Linked DNA regions of Homo sapiens: all the other regions are linked to region 1. The links are contacts of gene promoters, found by promoter capture Hi-C in blood cells and fetal thymus (Javierre and others, 2016). All regions are on one chromosome and are shown on one strand. The core of a region is centred on a gene start or on the middle of the fragment in contact, and the rest is flanking DNA. Distances in the headings are between cores, read along the strand shown.

Evidence for each region. The method cuts DNA at HindIII sites, captures the fragments that hold promoters and counts their contacts. A CHiCAGO score of 5 or more calls a contact.
Region 2: a contact is called between the fragment with the promoter of MBD2 here and a fragment that was not itself captured in region 1, in 14 of 17 cell types (total B cells, naive CD8 T cells, total CD4 T cells and 11 more). The highest score is 19.1, in total B cells.
Region 3: the fragment with the promoter of POLI here is called in contact with a fragment that was not itself captured in region 1 in 3 of 17 cell types (activated CD4 T cells, fetal thymus and monocytes); the score reaches 6.4 in activated CD4 T cells.
Region 4: a contact is called between the fragment with the promoter of LMAN1 here and a fragment that was not itself captured in region 1, in 1 of 17 cell types (non-activated CD4 T cells). The highest score is 5.7, in non-activated CD4 T cells.

What each region holds. Positions count from the first base shown.
Region 1 is chr18:56,634,813-56,638,656 of GRCh38, reverse strand. TXNL1 (thioredoxin like 1) reads left to right here and starts at 65. Exons shown (of 8, transcript NM_004786.3): 1 at 65-314. The coding sequence starts at 217. RefSeq lists enhancers at 1-27, 187-246, 28-1,013 and a silencer at 1-36. The HindIII fragment of the contact is 1,142 bases long and covers 711-1,852 here.
Region 2 is chr18:54,221,934-54,225,920 of GRCh38, reverse strand. MBD2 (methyl-CpG binding domain protein 2) reads left to right here and starts at 1,252. Exons shown (of 7, transcript NM_003927.5): 1 at 1,252-1,903. The coding sequence starts at 1,362. SNORA37 (small nucleolar RNA, H/ACA box 37) reads left to right here and starts at 3,509; the gene lies at 3,509-3,637. RefSeq lists an enhancer at 1-411 and a silencer at 1,162-1,551. The HindIII fragment of the contact is 9,949 bases long and covers 886-3,987 here.
Region 3 is chr18:54,268,054-54,272,209 of GRCh38, reverse strand. POLI (DNA polymerase iota) reads right to left here and starts at 2,693. Exons shown (of 10, transcript NM_007195.3): 1 at 2,549-2,693; 2 at 725-850. The coding sequence starts at 2,663. LOC124904307 (a long non-coding RNA gene) reads left to right here and starts at 2,305. Exons shown (of 2, transcript XR_007066379.1): 1 at 2,305-2,384. RefSeq lists enhancers at 2,212-2,261, 2,792-2,921, 3,182-3,331 and a silencer at 2,332-2,581. The HindIII fragment of the contact is 5,901 bases long and covers 1-4,156 here.
Region 4 is chr18:59,357,758-59,361,824 of GRCh38, reverse strand. It overlaps LMAN1 (lectin, mannose binding 1), which reads left to right and starts at 2,560. Exons shown (of 13, transcript NM_005570.4): 1 at 2,560-2,794. The coding sequence starts at 2,581. RefSeq lists a silencer at 2,276-2,575 and enhancers at 2,606-2,795, 2,986-3,035, 3,046-3,145. The HindIII fragment of the contact is 14,570 bases long and covers 1-4,067 here.

The DNA.
Region 1 (3,844 bases), core at 32-2,531:
CTCCTCTCCCCTCCCCCATCCCTCCCCGCCCCCTCGGCCGCTCCGCTCCCTGGCGTGACTCGGCACTGAGAGTCCCGGGAGAAGACTCGGCGGTCGCCACCTCTTCTGTCCAGGCCTCGGCCTTCCTGAGCATCTCTCCTTCCTCTCCCAGATCGTCTTCTCCTTCAGTTTCAAAGCCAGTGGCGTCGCGGCCACCCTGCCGGGCTCTCTGTGAGGATGGTGGGGGTGAAGCCCGTCGGGAGCGACCCGGATTTCCAGCCAGAGCTGAGCGGCGCGGGCTCCAGACTCGCCGTGGTCAAGTTCACCATGAGAGGGTGAGGCCAGGCTCGAGCTCTGTGGGTCCCCGTCTGTCCTTCCTTGCTTTCCTTTCACTCTTTGTTGGCCCTGGTTTCCTAGCCGTCTGCTGCCCCGGAGTGTCCGGCAGTCGCCGCAGCCCCAGGAGCTGCCGGAATTAGGCCTCGTTTCTCGGGTGTGAACCCCCATTTATGCACAGGGGTTCCTAGACGGGCTCGGGGGCCTGGCTGGCCGGCTTCTCCAGCTCAGGAGATTTCTCACCTGCTCCTTTTCAATTCTTTGACAAACTGGTTTTGGGGGTGGCCCGCCCCTATTCCTTCCAGCCTGTGGGAGTCTCCGCAGCCACCCTTGCCTGAGCCTGACCCCTTCTTTCTGCAGAGCCAGCTGTCATTTGCATCTCCAGAGCTCCAAAAGCTTAATTTACCGAACACTTTGTTTCTCTTCACCACCTACATCTCTCTAAAGCCTTTGAAGATTCAGATGGGGCGATCTAACTAATATGCGTAGCTCTGAGTCCTGAATTTCTGCTAATGCATTTCGAACTAAGTTAACGTTGGGTTAGGGTGCTTTTTAAATTATTTGAACTTTTTTCTTCCTCGTTCGGCCACTAACTTGTAGCTTAGGCTCCCCTATGTATGCGATTGCAACTGGTCACACACGACAGTACATATATAATATATTTCAGGTGGACAGTTGGCCGGATGTCTTAGTTTGACCCGGCTCTGTTTTTTCACTTAAGAGGACAGGGATCTTGAAAAATGTTAACTGTCTTTGGTAAATATCAACAAAATTATAGGTCGTAGAAAAGGTGGACCTTTTATAGTGGATGTGTAGTAAAGTTCCTTTGTAAGAATGACATGTTGGAACTCGGCGTTGAGAACCAAGATTTCAGCGTGTGTGTGTGTTTCACAGATCTCTCCTTGTGTATGTCGATAGTATTTAGTTAGAAGTATGAGAGGTTTCCGCTTTATTTTCCTTGACCCCTTGGCGTTATTTATACATCTAACTTGGAGCAGTCTACTGCTGGTATCACTGTTTATGTAACACACTTTCTTGTCCAAATAACTGTATAAACACAAAATTCCATTTTGAATTTCAGAGCAAAAAACAAAGTTTCTACTAGATGGTTCACTAAATGTTGAGTATATAAATGGTGGCATTAGGATTATATCGTTTTAGGGAATGGATGCAGATAGATATGAAAACAAGTTAAGACTTATTTTTGGACCAGTCTCTCTTACACTGAATTGAAAAAGGATAGTACCTTGCATTTCATATGGTGGGCTAGAGTACCCATATGATATACGGAATTTTGCATTTACTAAATTTAAAAGGATAAGTGATGTCATATATATAAAACACCTAAAAGGAATGTTAGAATTCTATAAATGTGTCTTCTCATTTTTAGCAATTTTGTGATGTCTGTATTCTTAATAATAGGGGAATACCTGTAGTACATTAAGTATCTAGGCCACAGTAGAAAAGGGAAGATAGGATTTCAATAAGGAACCTCACCTCACTTTTAGTTCACTTATTCTAATTCTGGCCCGTCGAAGCTTTTATATTTTTGTCCCTCAATGATATATTGTTTTTCTCCCTTACCATAGCAGTGGGAGAGATAATAAAATAATAAATAAATATTGATTGAAGTGAGAAAACTGGGGAAACATTGCTGCGAAGGAAGGTTTTTTCTATCAGTGTGGTGTCACTTAAGCATAAGCATAACTGCAGACATTGATTGGTAAGGAACTGTTACATTTAAAAAGGTATTTTAGTGGAATTAAAATTTTTTTTCTTTGTAAAAACCGAGGGAAAATTAATGTTTGGATTTAGAGTAAGTTCAAAAGCATATTTATATTACGTTTACAAATCTGGTAAGATTATTGTATTTACCTTTAATATTCCTCGAACTTATTGGCCATTAATACATCCTGTCTAAACTCATTGTCAATAGAACCCCAGAATTATGTATATGACGGGTCAGTATTAGACTCAGAAACAACTGTATTCAGTAAAATCTTGTAAGAATCCTCTTAGATCAAAGTTAATGCTGTCCCAGTTTAGACTGAGGGCATAGTTTCTCCAGCACCTATTTCATTTCCTTTCCAACCCTATTTTAAACCTTTTTTCTTTTTTTTTAACCTCTATGCTTTATGCACTCTCAGTCTAAATTTTACTAAAATGATACATAGATTGTTCTCCTGTGTAAGAATCTTTAGTGGCTTATGATAAAATATATATAACATAAAATTGACCATTTAGCCATTTGTAAGAGTATAATTCATTGGCATTAAGGACAGTCAGCCCTCTGTATCCATGGATTGAACCAAATGTGGATAGAAAATATTTGGAGAAAAAAAATTGCATTTGTGCTGATCATGTACACACTTTTTTCTTGTCATTATTTTCTAAACAATACAGTATAACAACTATTTACATAGCATTTACCTTAGGCATTATAAGTAATCTAGAGATGATTTAAAGTATATGGGAGAATGGTCGTAGGTTATGTGCAGATACCATGTCATTTTCTATTAGGCCCTTGAGCATCTGTGATTTAGTGTCTTGCTGGAGGTCCTGAAACTAATCCCCCAGATACCCAGACATGACTATACAGTCACAATGTTGTGCCACCATCACCACTGTTTCCTATAACTTTAGACAGAAATTCTATATCCATTAAAGGATAACTCCCCATCCTTACTTCTCCAAAGGGACAAAACTGTACCCATTAAGCAGTAATTTGCCCCTCCCCATCTACCTCCTTGGTAACTTCTATTCTGCTTTCTGTCTCTATGAATTTGTCAATTTGTGGCACCTAATATAAGTGAAATCGTAACAATATTTGTCCTTTTGTTTTTGACTTCACTTAGCATAGTATTTTCAAGGTTCATCCATGTCTTAGTATGTCTCAGAATTTCATTCTTCTTTATAACTGCATAACATAATCCATTTATTTATATGGCAAATTTTGTATACCTGTTCATTTTTTGATGGACATTCCAGTTGTGTCTTCCTTTGGCTGTTGTGGATAATGCTGCTAGGGGACATTGCTATGCGGGGATCCCTGCTTACTTGCTTGCTTTTCTTTTTTCTTATTTGTTAGAGACAGGGTCTTGCTCTGTTGCCCAGGCTGGAGTGCAGTTTTGAGACGATGGCTCACTGCAGCATTGAATTCCTGGCCTCAAGCAATCCTCCCACATCAGCCTCTCAAGTAAATGGGACTACAGACACATACCACCATGCCCGCTAATTTATTTTTTGTTTTAGAGACTAAGTCTCACTTTGTTGCCCAGGCTGGTCTAAATCCTGGCTTCAAGCGACCCTCCCACGTCAGCATCCCAAATTGCTGGGGTTACAGGTGTGAGTCACTGCGCTGGGCCTTCTGTGCCCATTTTTGAATTGAGTGGTTTGTTTTTGGGTTGAGTTGCAGGAGTTCTTTATATATGCCGGATGTTAATATTTAATTTGCAAATACTTTGTCCCATTCTTTGGGTTGTCTTTTTCTTGATGGTGTCCTTTGATGCATGAGTTTTAAATTTTGATGAAG
Region 2 (3,987 bases), core at 3-2,502, 2.4 Mb after region 1:
TCCTGACCTCAGGTGATCTGCCCGCCTCTGCCTCCCAAAGTGTTGGGATTACAGGCGTGAGCCACCGCGCCCGGCCCACAGATGACTTCTAAATGAATGTCTCCAGTACTGATCTCCTCAGAACTCATTTCTTGATGATTTTTTACATTCACATTTCTAAATTTCTTGTAGGAAACCACAAATTAGTGTCTTTCAACTAAAGGACATTAAAAGAAGACTAAGGTCAGGTTTAGAGACAGACAAGTTTGTGTGTATGAGTTAATGTTTGCATATACTGCAAAGATAAACCAAATTAATTTTAGATTTTTGTTGCTTTATATTAATCAACTTTTTCTATACGTTAAACTTGGTCCTCAGTTTTTAGGGCATATGAGTATAGAAACCCAAGATAGCTTATCATCAGGCTGATAACATGTGCTTTACATTTTTCAATCTTCCAAATATTTCATAATATATTATCTTGAATATCAATAGCACACTTCTATAAGTGTTCGACAACTTATAGAAAATATGCATTTCTAAAATTCAAGTTGGCAGACCGAAAAGAATACCACACAGTTTCCTAAAGGCTTGTGACAGTAAGTTAGGCTGGACTTTCAACATAATGGAATATTTACCAAATAAAAGGCCACTGATTTTTGTATTAGACAAAGACATCTGGAAATTTCTAGATGGATTTAGGGATTCTGGTCATTCTAAGGAGAATCTAGAGGTAAGCCCCATCTGACTCATGGGCATATTCCAAGTTATCATTTCCTTTCCTACATCCTTACAAGGTTCCAGGAGAATCTGTCAATGGCTCTGAAGCCAGGCTCAGGAGGGAACTGGTATTCAGCGAATGGGACACTTTGCTTCATTCCTTCATTATAAGCTCCCCTGCAAGCTTTGTGCAGAGGGGCGGGAAAAGGGGCTATCACCCCCTTAAATGAATAGCCGAGTTGGTATGTAATATAAGATCTATTTTGCTTGTTATTCATTAATTGGGAAGCAAACATAGGTAAAATCACATAATGGTGGAGGTTACCCCGTTTGAAACAAACTAACCACAGTCACTATGACACCCCCAGCTGGTGGCTAGCCCGACCAACCTTCCCAGCTCCGCGCGCCCAGTGGGGGCCGGAAAAGCGCGGGAGGGGGCGTGGCCCCGAGAAGGCGGAGACAAGATGGCCGCCCATAGCGCTTGGAGGACCTAAGAGGCGGTGGCCGGGGCCACGCCCCGGGCAGGAGGGCCGCTCTGTGCGCGCCCGCTCTATGATGCTTGCGCGCGTCCCCCGCGCGCCGCGCTGCGGGCGGGGCGGGTCTCCGGGATTCCAAGGGCTCGGTTACGGAAGAAGCGCAGCGCCGGCTGGGGAGGGGGCTGGATGCGCGCGCACCCGGGGGGAGGCCGCTGCTGCCCGGAGCAGGAGGAGGGGGAGAGTGCGGCGGGCGGCAGCGGCGCTGGCGGCGACTCCGCCATAGAGCAGGGGGGCCAGGGCAGCGCGCTCGCCCCGTCCCCGGTGAGCGGCGTGCGCAGGGAAGGCGCTCGGGGCGGCGGCCGTGGCCGGGGGCGGTGGAAGCAGGCGGGCCGGGGCGGCGGCGTCTGTGGCCGTGGCCGGGGCCGGGGCCGTGGCCGGGGACGGGGACGGGGCCGGGGCCGGGGCCGCGGCCGTCCCCCGAGTGGCGGCAGCGGCCTTGGCGGCGACGGCGGCGGCTGCGGCGGCGGCGGCAGCGGTGGCGGCGGCGCCCCCCGGCGGGAGCCGGTCCCTTTCCCGTCGGGGAGCGCGGGGCCGGGGCCCAGGGGACCCCGGGCCACGGAGAGCGGGAAGAGGATGGATTGCCCGGCCCTCCCCCCCGGATGGAAGAAGGAGGAAGTGATCCGAAAATCTGGGCTAAGTGCTGGCAAGAGCGATGTCTACTACTTCAGGTACCTCCCTGGGGGCGGGGAGGGGGTGGCGGGGTCAGGCCGGGGTCAGGGGTCAAGAGCGGGCCTGGGCAGAGGATGAGCGCTGGGGCCCGGGGGGCATGTGGCAGGGACAGGCTGGTTTGGTGGTGGAAGGTGGCGGAACCCTTGGGTGAGAGTTGACCCCAGTGCGGTGGGAGGCAGTGTCAAAAGGTGAGGGCCCGCAGGAGGGCATCTTATGTGGAAGGCGTCGGGGAAGATGGTTTGCGAAGAAAGGGTTAGCCTGGCAGGGATGGTTAGTCCACTGAAGGGTTAAAAGGAGGTGTAATTCATCGAAACTATAAAACCCAGTCACTGTTGGCTCCTGTCCCAGCCTGTCCCAGATTCATCATCACAAGTGTTAAGCATGCACATGTGGAAGAATGAGCTATCTACAGTAACAAGGTTTCATTTACTTCATCCAAGAAAGTTTTGTATAAAGCAGCTATTTGGAATGCCTGAAGTTTTTTTGGAACTTCTTGGTATTGCAGAATATACTCTTTTGAAACTGACACACTGTACTAAGTTTTTAGACTCCTAGACCAAAATTTGCTCCCCAGGGAACATTTGTCAATGTCTGGAGACATTTTCGGTTCTCACACCTGGGGAGGGTGTGATACTGGCATCTAGTGGGTAGAGGCCAGAGATGCTGCTACATATTCGATAATACAAAGGAAAGCTGCCACAACAAAGAATGATCTGGCCCAAATTGTCACCTGTGCTGAGGTTGAGACATCCTGTTTTAAATGATTCAAGGTTTTTCACCTTAGTGTAATCTTGCAATCCCGTGGTCATGCTGCTGATGTCTTCAGTTTGTGTGACCCAGTAAGCTCAAGAAAGTGCCTATGGCAATTGACATCCGTGGACTTAATACACATTTACTAAATTTTGTAATAAGCCATGCTATTGATAGAAGATAATATAAACTTGTATTCAGTAGTTTGGAGGTACGTGTTTGTGGACTGACTGAAGCATTTTTCAGGGAATGTATATGGGTATTGGAGACAATTGTCATTTAGCTATTGTAATAATGTTATAAAGGATTTCCTGTCCTCTTCAAGTAGCTCTGGGAAAATGTGTCTGTACACATACCATGCTTATGAACTAAAAATACTTTTAACTAGATTGAAAAGGTTAAAGAAATGTACATACACATATATACATACATATGCACACACAAGAATGTGATCACTGCTGGTGCAGCATGTAAATACGAACACATTCCTGATGGTTGCTATATATGGATGAGTAGTTGTAGTAAGTTCACTTCACCTCAACTAAAAAATAAAAGTGATGTTTCATAGAACTTAGTCTTCCACTTGATCTGGACCCTCATCTTGAAACCTCATATGATAAAATGGAGAACTTCTTTTAAACATAAGAAGGTAGTAATCACCTGTGGTCCCAGTTACGGGGCTGGGGCGAGAGAATCTCTTGAGTCCAGGAGTTCGAGGCTGCAATGACCTATGATTGTGCCTGGGCAATAGAGTGAAACCCCATCTCTTTAAAGAAAAAAAAGAAAAAGTGTGATAGTCTTGGTTTGTATTTCCTCATCATTAAATATTTGATTTAATGGTAAGAAAGTTATTGTGAGCACTTTCACAGGTCCTCCCTCAGGCTGTGGGGCCAGGATTTGGTAGCTGGTGCTGAGAGAAAACCTTTGTTGGCATCCTTGCCCTGGGACTGTGCCAGTGGCAGCTGTCATTCAATGGGACAATTTCTTCTGATTAAAAAAAAAGGTTATTGTGGTTAAAAAAAGATTAGTTTTCTCAAGTTCATTAGTTTCATTTAGTGCCGTTCACAATTGTTCGTTTTCTAGTATTCTTTCATTAACAGAGCATTCTGTTTTCTTTCTAAGCAGGCTGTCTGCATAACCTTCTGTGAACTATGTGCTGATGTCTTGTAGGCAATTATATTTGACAAGATTATTCTGTATCTGTGATTGAACTCCTTGAGGAATAGATGACTAGGCTATTCTCAGTAGAACATCTTAAACTTTGAATTTTACTCTGTGGCAGTTCTCCTGGGATATGGTTTGTTTGGTTTTGGGATGATGTTTTTGTTCAGAC
Region 3 (4,156 bases), core at 1,444-3,943, 2.4 Mb after region 1:
CTTCAGTAAATCAGCTAGGCTGGATTGGGATTTATTAAGCCAAAGTGGGCACAAGAGGGTAGCAGCAAGTGAACCAAAAATGTTCTTTATGCTTACACTAAAAGAGGAATCTTTCCTGCATGCATGAAAGAAAATCTCTTTATCTTTCTCAATTTAAAATATGAATAATAAAAATGATAAAACAAGCTAGCATATCAACAAATATCCAATATAAAATTTATTTTGGCTTTTATTTAAAAAGATGCTTATGTTTTTACGGCAAGTTTGCTGTCTTAATAATACTTAGGTTTATGTTCAAAATCCAACTAGTTAGTTAGATGTTACACAATTTAAGAGATAATTTCAGAAAGGGGAGGACAGACGAACACTTCCACTAAAATGTAATAAGAGGCTGTTTTTGAGAACAAAGCCTGTAAAATTTCAAATAGTGAGAAAAAGAAATCTGACCAGCAAACTAAGCTACTAACCAGCACAGAAAAGTAACATTTATTCTGCTTTCTCTTCATTTGTTCTGCCGACTACACTATTCTCAGATTCACCACTTATTAAATGAGGCTTGTAAAATTTACACTTGGTAGTGAAGCAAAAATGACCAGCTATAAAGCACTGTAAGAACTGCTTCCAAAATCTTTCTTAATAAGGTTAATAAATCAGTATATAATGAGCATGATGAGTTGCTAATCTAATCATTATGCAATTAAAAATATTATAAATCTACAGTTACCTAAAGGTTTGTCTTTTAGCTCTGGATTTGAGATCATTTCTACTTGTGCATAAAAGCAATCCAGATCCACATGTACTATGACTCTGGATGAAGCATTTGGTGTGGGCAACACTTGATCATGAACTCCTGCACAATATGCAAAGAAATAAAAAGAAATTCAGGCTGCTTATTATCTCTGAGCAACTGACAGTTCCTTAAAACATGGTACCTGTGAAGGAAGAATGCAGAGTGACGTGTTTTCTCCTGGATTATGTGTGAAAGCATCGAAAAATTACAAAGACATGAAACTCCACTTAGGGTAGGGTCTTCAGTCCTCTTAATTACTGTTTGTGCACTGCGTTTTTCTCAGGATAGTAATAAGTTTGAAGGGAAAAAATGTGATAAATAATGGATGATGAAAGAGCTAATACTATCACCTGGAAGTTTATAGTAGCTCTTAGTGTAAACCAGAAGGGGCAGAAAAGTTGAAATGACGTTGATTTTCACACAGCTTGAAAATTATTCTAAGCAGCATGCCCTTACATTTAAAACAAACAAACCAACAAAAACTGAAATACAAAATGGCAAAAGACAACCAGTGGGTACAAGTGTGGGCTATTTTTAGCTCCCATGGCAGCAGGATTATCTGGTTTAATGCTAAATCGCCAGTGCCTAAAACAGTGTCTAGGACATAACAGACCACCAATAAATATTCACTAAATTGAAAGACTGAATAGTTCTTTGATTTTAAAAAGTTGTTAGGTCATTATTTGTCGGGGAGGGAATGACAGAGGCGACTCCTTCTCTCAACACTGGCTAAAAACAAGACAGGCAAAATACAATACAATATTCTGGTTGGGATCCTGGAACAGAAAATGAACGTTAGCAGAAAAACTGGTAGAATATTAATAAAGCGTGTAGTTCAATTAATAGTATTATACCAATGTTAATTTCCTAGTTTTGACAAATGTACTGAGTTTATGTTAACACTAGGGGGATCTAGCTCTGCAACTTTCAGGTAAACCTAAAGTTCCAAAATTTAAAAGGCCAGGCACGATGGCTAACTACTGTAATCCCAATACTTTTCGAAGCTGAGGTGGAAGGATCGCTTGTGGCTGGAGTTTGAGACCAGCCTGGACAACACAGCTACACCTGATCTAAAAAAATCTGAAAATCAGCCAGGTGTGGTGGCACGTGCCTGCTGTCCCAGCTACTCGGGACGGAGAGGCTGGGGCGGAGGATCACTTGAGCCCAGGGGTTCGAGGCTGCAGGGAGACCTTGTCTCTAAATTAATGAATGAAACAAAACCAGCAGGAAATGAGAACCGGTGCCTTTACATCCAGGCCCTGAGGTGGGCGGTACAAGGTAAAGACCAGAGCTGGAAGTGGGTCACCGGAGACGTGACCACAGCGGACCTGACTCCGCCTAGGTTCTGAGCCATCCCTTCCTGCCAGGACTGAGATCCGGGTCCCACCTTCTGCCAAATGAGCGACAAGGTCCTCAACTTCTCCAAAGTTAAAAGGCCCAGAAGCCTCTGCAGTTTTCGTCGGGCTGGCTGAGGGATTCCCGCCCCACCTCGCCCCTCACAGAGGAAAGGACGGCGCAGATAAACCCTCGACACGTATTTGTAGTGTGGACGCGCCCCACCCTACTCCTGCTGGGTGAAGCCATTCCTCTAGAGGTACCCGCCGCGTAACACAAGGCAGAGGGAGGCAGCCCTCTCTTAGAGGAGCCGAGTGGGGCGGGGACGGTCGCGCCCCAGTGGCCGCCGCCCCGAGCGTCCGCCTGCCCCACCCTTCTCATTTACACCCAAGGAGGCCGCTGGCTCCTCTGGCTGCGGCGCACCCTGCGAGCTGGCTGCCGCCCCCACGTCCGCCAGTTCCATGGCCCAGGCCTCGGCGTCTTCCTCGTCGTCGTCGCCGCCGCCTTCCTCCTCCGGCTCCACCCCCAGCTTCTCCATCCCGCCGCTGCCAACCGCAGCGCTACTTCCGGCCGCTTCCGCCTGGTCTCCAGGGAAACCGGGGGACTACAGTCTCCAGTCGCTCTGTGCCTCTCGCCTGCGCAGTCGTGGCCGACCAGCCTGTTGCCCAGAGTGACACGCATGCCAAGGAATCGTGGAGGCCCACGTGCGGGAGTTTTTTCCCGCCGGGTGGAGGCCGGAAGCGGAGAGATTGAAAGCACAAATGGCTATTTTTTTTTTTTTTGAGACGGAGTTTCGTTCTTGTTGCTCAGGCTGGAGTGGGCAACAGTGACGCAATACCGGCTCACTGCAACCTCTGCCTCCCGGATTCAAGCGATTCTCCTGCCTCAGCCTCCCAAGTAGCTGGGATTAACAGGCATGCGCCATCACGCCCAGCTAATTTTTTTGTATTTAGTAGAGACGAGGTTTCACCATGTTGGTCAGGCTGGTTTCGAACTCCTGTCCTCAGGTGATCCACCCTCCTAGGCCTCCCAAAGTGTTGAGATCACAGGCATGAGCCACTGCGCCTGGCCTTTTTTTTTTTTTCTTGAAGGCTTTGGAGTTAGGCCCACATCACAAATTTTAGCGTTTTGTCTTTGTTCCATTCGGCTGTTAGCAAACTTGCAAATCCCTAGACCTGAGTGATTAATGTGATGGGGTGGGAAGGAGTGTAACTGATAGTAAAGACACAGGTGGCCTTGTAAACTCATATGATTAGCAACTATGTTAAGGTTTGCTGTGTTTTGTTTGTTGTTGTTTTATTTAAAGACACTGTGACGAATTCAACCACAGAATTTTTAACATCAAAACTGAATAGGATTTGATACATGAGTGTTGTAGTCAGACAAAATCTCCAATCCAGACCCTCCATCATGCTGTGTGACTTTGGGCAGGTTACATAACTGCTGTGAGCCTCAGTTGCTCTACTCTTAAAAAAAAAAAAAAGTATTGAGATTGAATGAATGGATAAAAGCTACCATATACTGTAATATCCTAATGTATATAAAACATGTGGCACATAGGAAGTGCTCAGTAAATGTCTATTCTCCTTGCCTTCTATTAGGATACCATGTGTGCATGTGTGTGTTGGTGTGTGTATGTGTATGTTTTACAATAGAGGAAATTTGGAAATTCCTCCATGCCTGTATGTATGTATATACACTATATCTGTATAAATACCCAAATTAACACATATGTTTGGTTTTTTATATGATTCTACTTCTTATCAAATAAAATATTAGAACCTTGAGAAACCCTTTAAAGCAGCCATTCCCAACCTTTTTGGCACCAGGGGCTGGTTTCATGGAAGACAATTTTTCCACAGACAGAAGGGAGGGGGATGGTTTTGGGATGATCCAAGTGCGTTACATTTGTTGTGCACTTTATTTCTATTATTATTACATTTTAATAGATAATGAGGTAGAATCAGTGGGAGCCCTGAGCGTGTTTTCCTGCAACTAGACTGTCCCATCTGGGGTGATGGGAGATAGTGA
Region 4 (4,067 bases), core at 1,311-3,810, 2.7 Mb before region 1:
AAAACACAGATTTTAAAATTCACTGGCCCAGAGTTCCTGGGGCCTGGAGTAAAAGCATTCTGATCCTTGAAACTTCAGTTTGCCAGGCCCAGTTTCTCAATTTCGCTATTTGTAAAATGGTCTTATCTAACTCAAACCGAAAAGCTCTCAGTTCTGAAGGAAAAATGCTATAAAATTTAAAGTTTAACAACTTAGACAAAACAACAAGCAAGATTCCCAGACATGACACACAAAAAACCCTTACGGGGGAAAATAGTAAATTGAGCTATATTAAAATTATAAGTATCTATTCACTAAAAGACAACATTAAGAGAGTGAAAAGTCATCCCACGAAGTGGGTGCAAATATTCGCTATATGTATATATCCAAGCAGAGACAGGTATTCAGAATAAAGAGTTTCTACAAGCTAACAAAAAAAGTCAGACAGCTGAAGCCCTCACATACTGCTGATGGCAGTGTAAATTAGCACAACCACTCTGAAAATTTGGCAGGATCTACTATGACCCAGCAACTCTACTCCTAGTTACATACCCAGTAGAAATTTTTTTTTATTATACTTTAAGTTCTAGGGTACATGTGCACAACGTGCAGGTTTGTTACATATGTATACATGTGCCATGTTGGTGTGCTGCACCCATTAACTCTAGAAATGTGTGTTTTTTAAAAAAAAAATCTGGATGCTGGTTGCATGGGAGGTATTCATTTTGGGAAAAATTCATTGAGTTACATTCTTAAGGCTGGCATAATTTTCTCTATATAATATGCTTCAATAAAACAGTTTTTTTTTTAAGAAACAGCTTCACAGAACATAAAGATTTACATTTATGGTTCAGCAAAATTACAAATATTTACTTGTATTATGCTTGAAATTCAGGTCCCTCATGAGTTCAAATCATGCGTAATGAATTGAAAATACTTAATATACATAATGTTTAACATAAAACGGTTCTTAAGATTGAAGGCTTCAATGATAGAATGGCTGGAATTGAAACCTACCTCTGCCACTTACTGTGTGACATTGGGCAAATTATTTAATCTATGCTTCTGTTTCCTCATCTGTAAATGGAAATATTAATGGCATCTACCTTAGAGGGCTGCTGTCAGCATTCAATAAGTTAACATATGTTGAAGGCTTAGTGCAGTTACACACAGAAAGCACTCAGTAAGTGTTTGCCATTTTTATAACATTAATGTTTGTTTAACAAATATTTATGGAATCTTCACTCTGTGCAAGGCATAGAGCTGGTTGCCAGAGCAATGAGAGAACCAAAGAAAATAAAATGATTAAATCCTATGGGTTGAAAACCATGGAGAGTCCAGGGCAATGACGCACATACACCATACAGTGGATAAATGTTTGTTACTGCTGCTGCTGAGATAGCAGTAAGTATGGTACTTTCATTTAAATTACATCTCGAGACTAGCAGGCGGAAAGCCTTAAATCCATATTCAACTTGAAGGTTTTATTTGAGCACTAGAAAGAGATTTAACAGTAATGGCCCATGAATCCGAAGATGGGATTCAACTTCCAAAACTGGGAAGTTAATGAAAAATAAGTTTAAGTAATGCGGGTATTGAGTCCCTAGGGCTAGTGTGGCGTTCATGTAGCCCACACGAACAGAGCTAATAAAAAGCCATGTGTAAAAACAATATAAATCATACTGCTGTTTCTTGGACTTGAAAAACTCATCATGACACATTTTTGAAAAAACAAAACTTTGGATTACCATGAATATTTTGACGATATTTTTTCCTAAGCAAGGGAAAGAGGAGTCCCCTTTAAAATATAGAACGTATTCATTGAGTGGAAGACCGATCCTATATCAAATGTCCAGGTTCTACAGACGCCTGGGTCCATAGCACATTATCCCTCTCACCAAAACCAAACCAAACCAAAGTCAGTTTCATTTGAATGCACTCTTGCCATGGTTTCAAAATTTGGAAAGCTCTTGGAATTAAATTTTGAGATGTAAAGGCTGGCTGACAAATTCACAGAAACCCTCTTTCCGACACCAACTTATAAATCCTAAGGCATCCTACAACCCCGTGGGTGCTGGTTTCTAGTTTGCAACGCTCTAACATAGCTTGGTAGAGCTCAGTGGGCTGGGACCATAAGCATTCGGGATTGTGCCACTGAAAAACTGATGTCACATCAAAAGGAACACCTTTCTTCTAATATACTAAAAAGGTTTTGTACAGGCTGGGTCCAGAGGTCTTAGGGCTAGCCAATTCCTGCTCCCAGGTATTCTAAGAAGCCGGAGAAAGCTCCCTGCAGGTAAGGACCCATCGGCGCTTCCCGCACTCTGCCGCGCGGGAAGCGAAGGTTGGAGTCCTTTCCCCACCCCCGGAGGGTGGGCGGGGCCGAAGGACCGCACCGCCCCAGACCCGCCCCCTGCGCGTGGCCCCGCCCACAGCTGCTCCTGGCCGTGCGGCCGCGCGGAAAGCGGAGGCCGGGGGCGGGGCTCACCCCTTGCCCTTGGGGGTCCCCCGGGCTCTGCCAATCAGCGAGCGCCCTGTTGGCCATCCGCAGCCATCCGCGCCCCTCCCTCTCCCGCCCTCCTCCGCGTTCCAGAATCCAAGATGGCGGGATCCAGGCAAAGGGGTCTCCGGGCCAGAGTTCGGCCGCTGTTCTGCGCCTTGCTGCTGTCACTCGGTCGCTTCGTCCGGGGCGACGGCGTGGGAGGAGACCCCGCGGTCGCGTTGCCACATCGCCGTTTCGAGTACAAATACAGCTTCAAGGGGCCGCACCTGGTGCAGAGCGACGGGACCGTGCCCTTCTGGGCCCACGCGGGGAGTAAGCCGGAGCAGAGGGCTGGGGGCCGGGTTCCTCTCCCCCTTCTGCTGCCTCTTCGCCTTTCATCCGCGGCTACCCTGGTGTGCTGAGGTTCCCGTTCCAGCAGCTGCACACCATATGCGCTGTGGAGGGGACCCTCCTGGCAGCCCCTCCGCCGGGTCCCTCCTGGTTCGCACGGTTCCCTCCGCTTGTCCCCGAGTCTTTCCCTCACCCATTCTGTTCTCTCTCACCCGCCTGCTGTCTTCCCTTCTTTGATCTCGTCGGTACTTTCCGTTGGATCTAGAGGTGTTTGGTTACCTCCTACACTTCCTAGCACTCAAACTTGCTTCTAGGTATCATGTTTCACAACGCCACGTCTCTAGGAGAAATGTGCCCTACCCCCAGCCATCCCAACCTGAGACATGTTCTAGAAGCCCCCTTACTTCCTTTCCCGCTTCCACCCCCCACCCCCGATCCCCGATTTCTTTGCTCCGGTGTTAGCAATGGTTAATGCTTCGCTTGAACCCCATGCCCACTGACGGCTCCTGAGATGGCATATAGTAGTATTAGAGTAATTTTTTAAGTCTTTGTATGTCAGAAGACATTCTTATACTGTTGGAACTACACATTTTCCTCTCAGTGACTTGGTGTGGTCTTTGATCTTTTCTCTCGTAGTAACACATTATGTAACTTTTTAGGAGAAGGGATATATTTTTAGGGATTGATTGTTTCTGAACCTGAGACTAAGAATAGCATTACATTTTTAGCCCTTTAAAAAAATTGGAAGCATTGAAATAATCTTGGGTTCATATTTTATTCACTCTCTGTGTTTGGCACTTTTGTAGATAAGAGAGCCTTGCTAGAGCATTTACTTACGTGAAAGAAAACATATCTGCACTTTTTAGTGCTGATGTGTCACTGCTGACTAAGGAGTCAATCGTAGCACTTGGCATGACATAAGCTCTGTTCAGTGACCATCAGATATACCCGTTGAACAAGTGGCAAATGCCTTTATATGAGATGAGGAGCTCTGGCAGTTTGAATTCTATCTTTGTGTGTGATTAATCTTTTTTTTTTTTTTTTTTTTTACTATAAGGTTTAGGGTACATGTGCACAACGTGCAGGTTGGTTAGTATGTATACATTTGCCATGTTGGTGTGCTGCACCCATTAACTAGTCATTTAACATTAGGTATATCTCCTAATGCTATCCCTCCCACCTCCCCCATAAGTAATCTTTTATATAAGGTTTTTATACATCACTTTAGATTATCCAGTTCTTGAAACAAAATGTT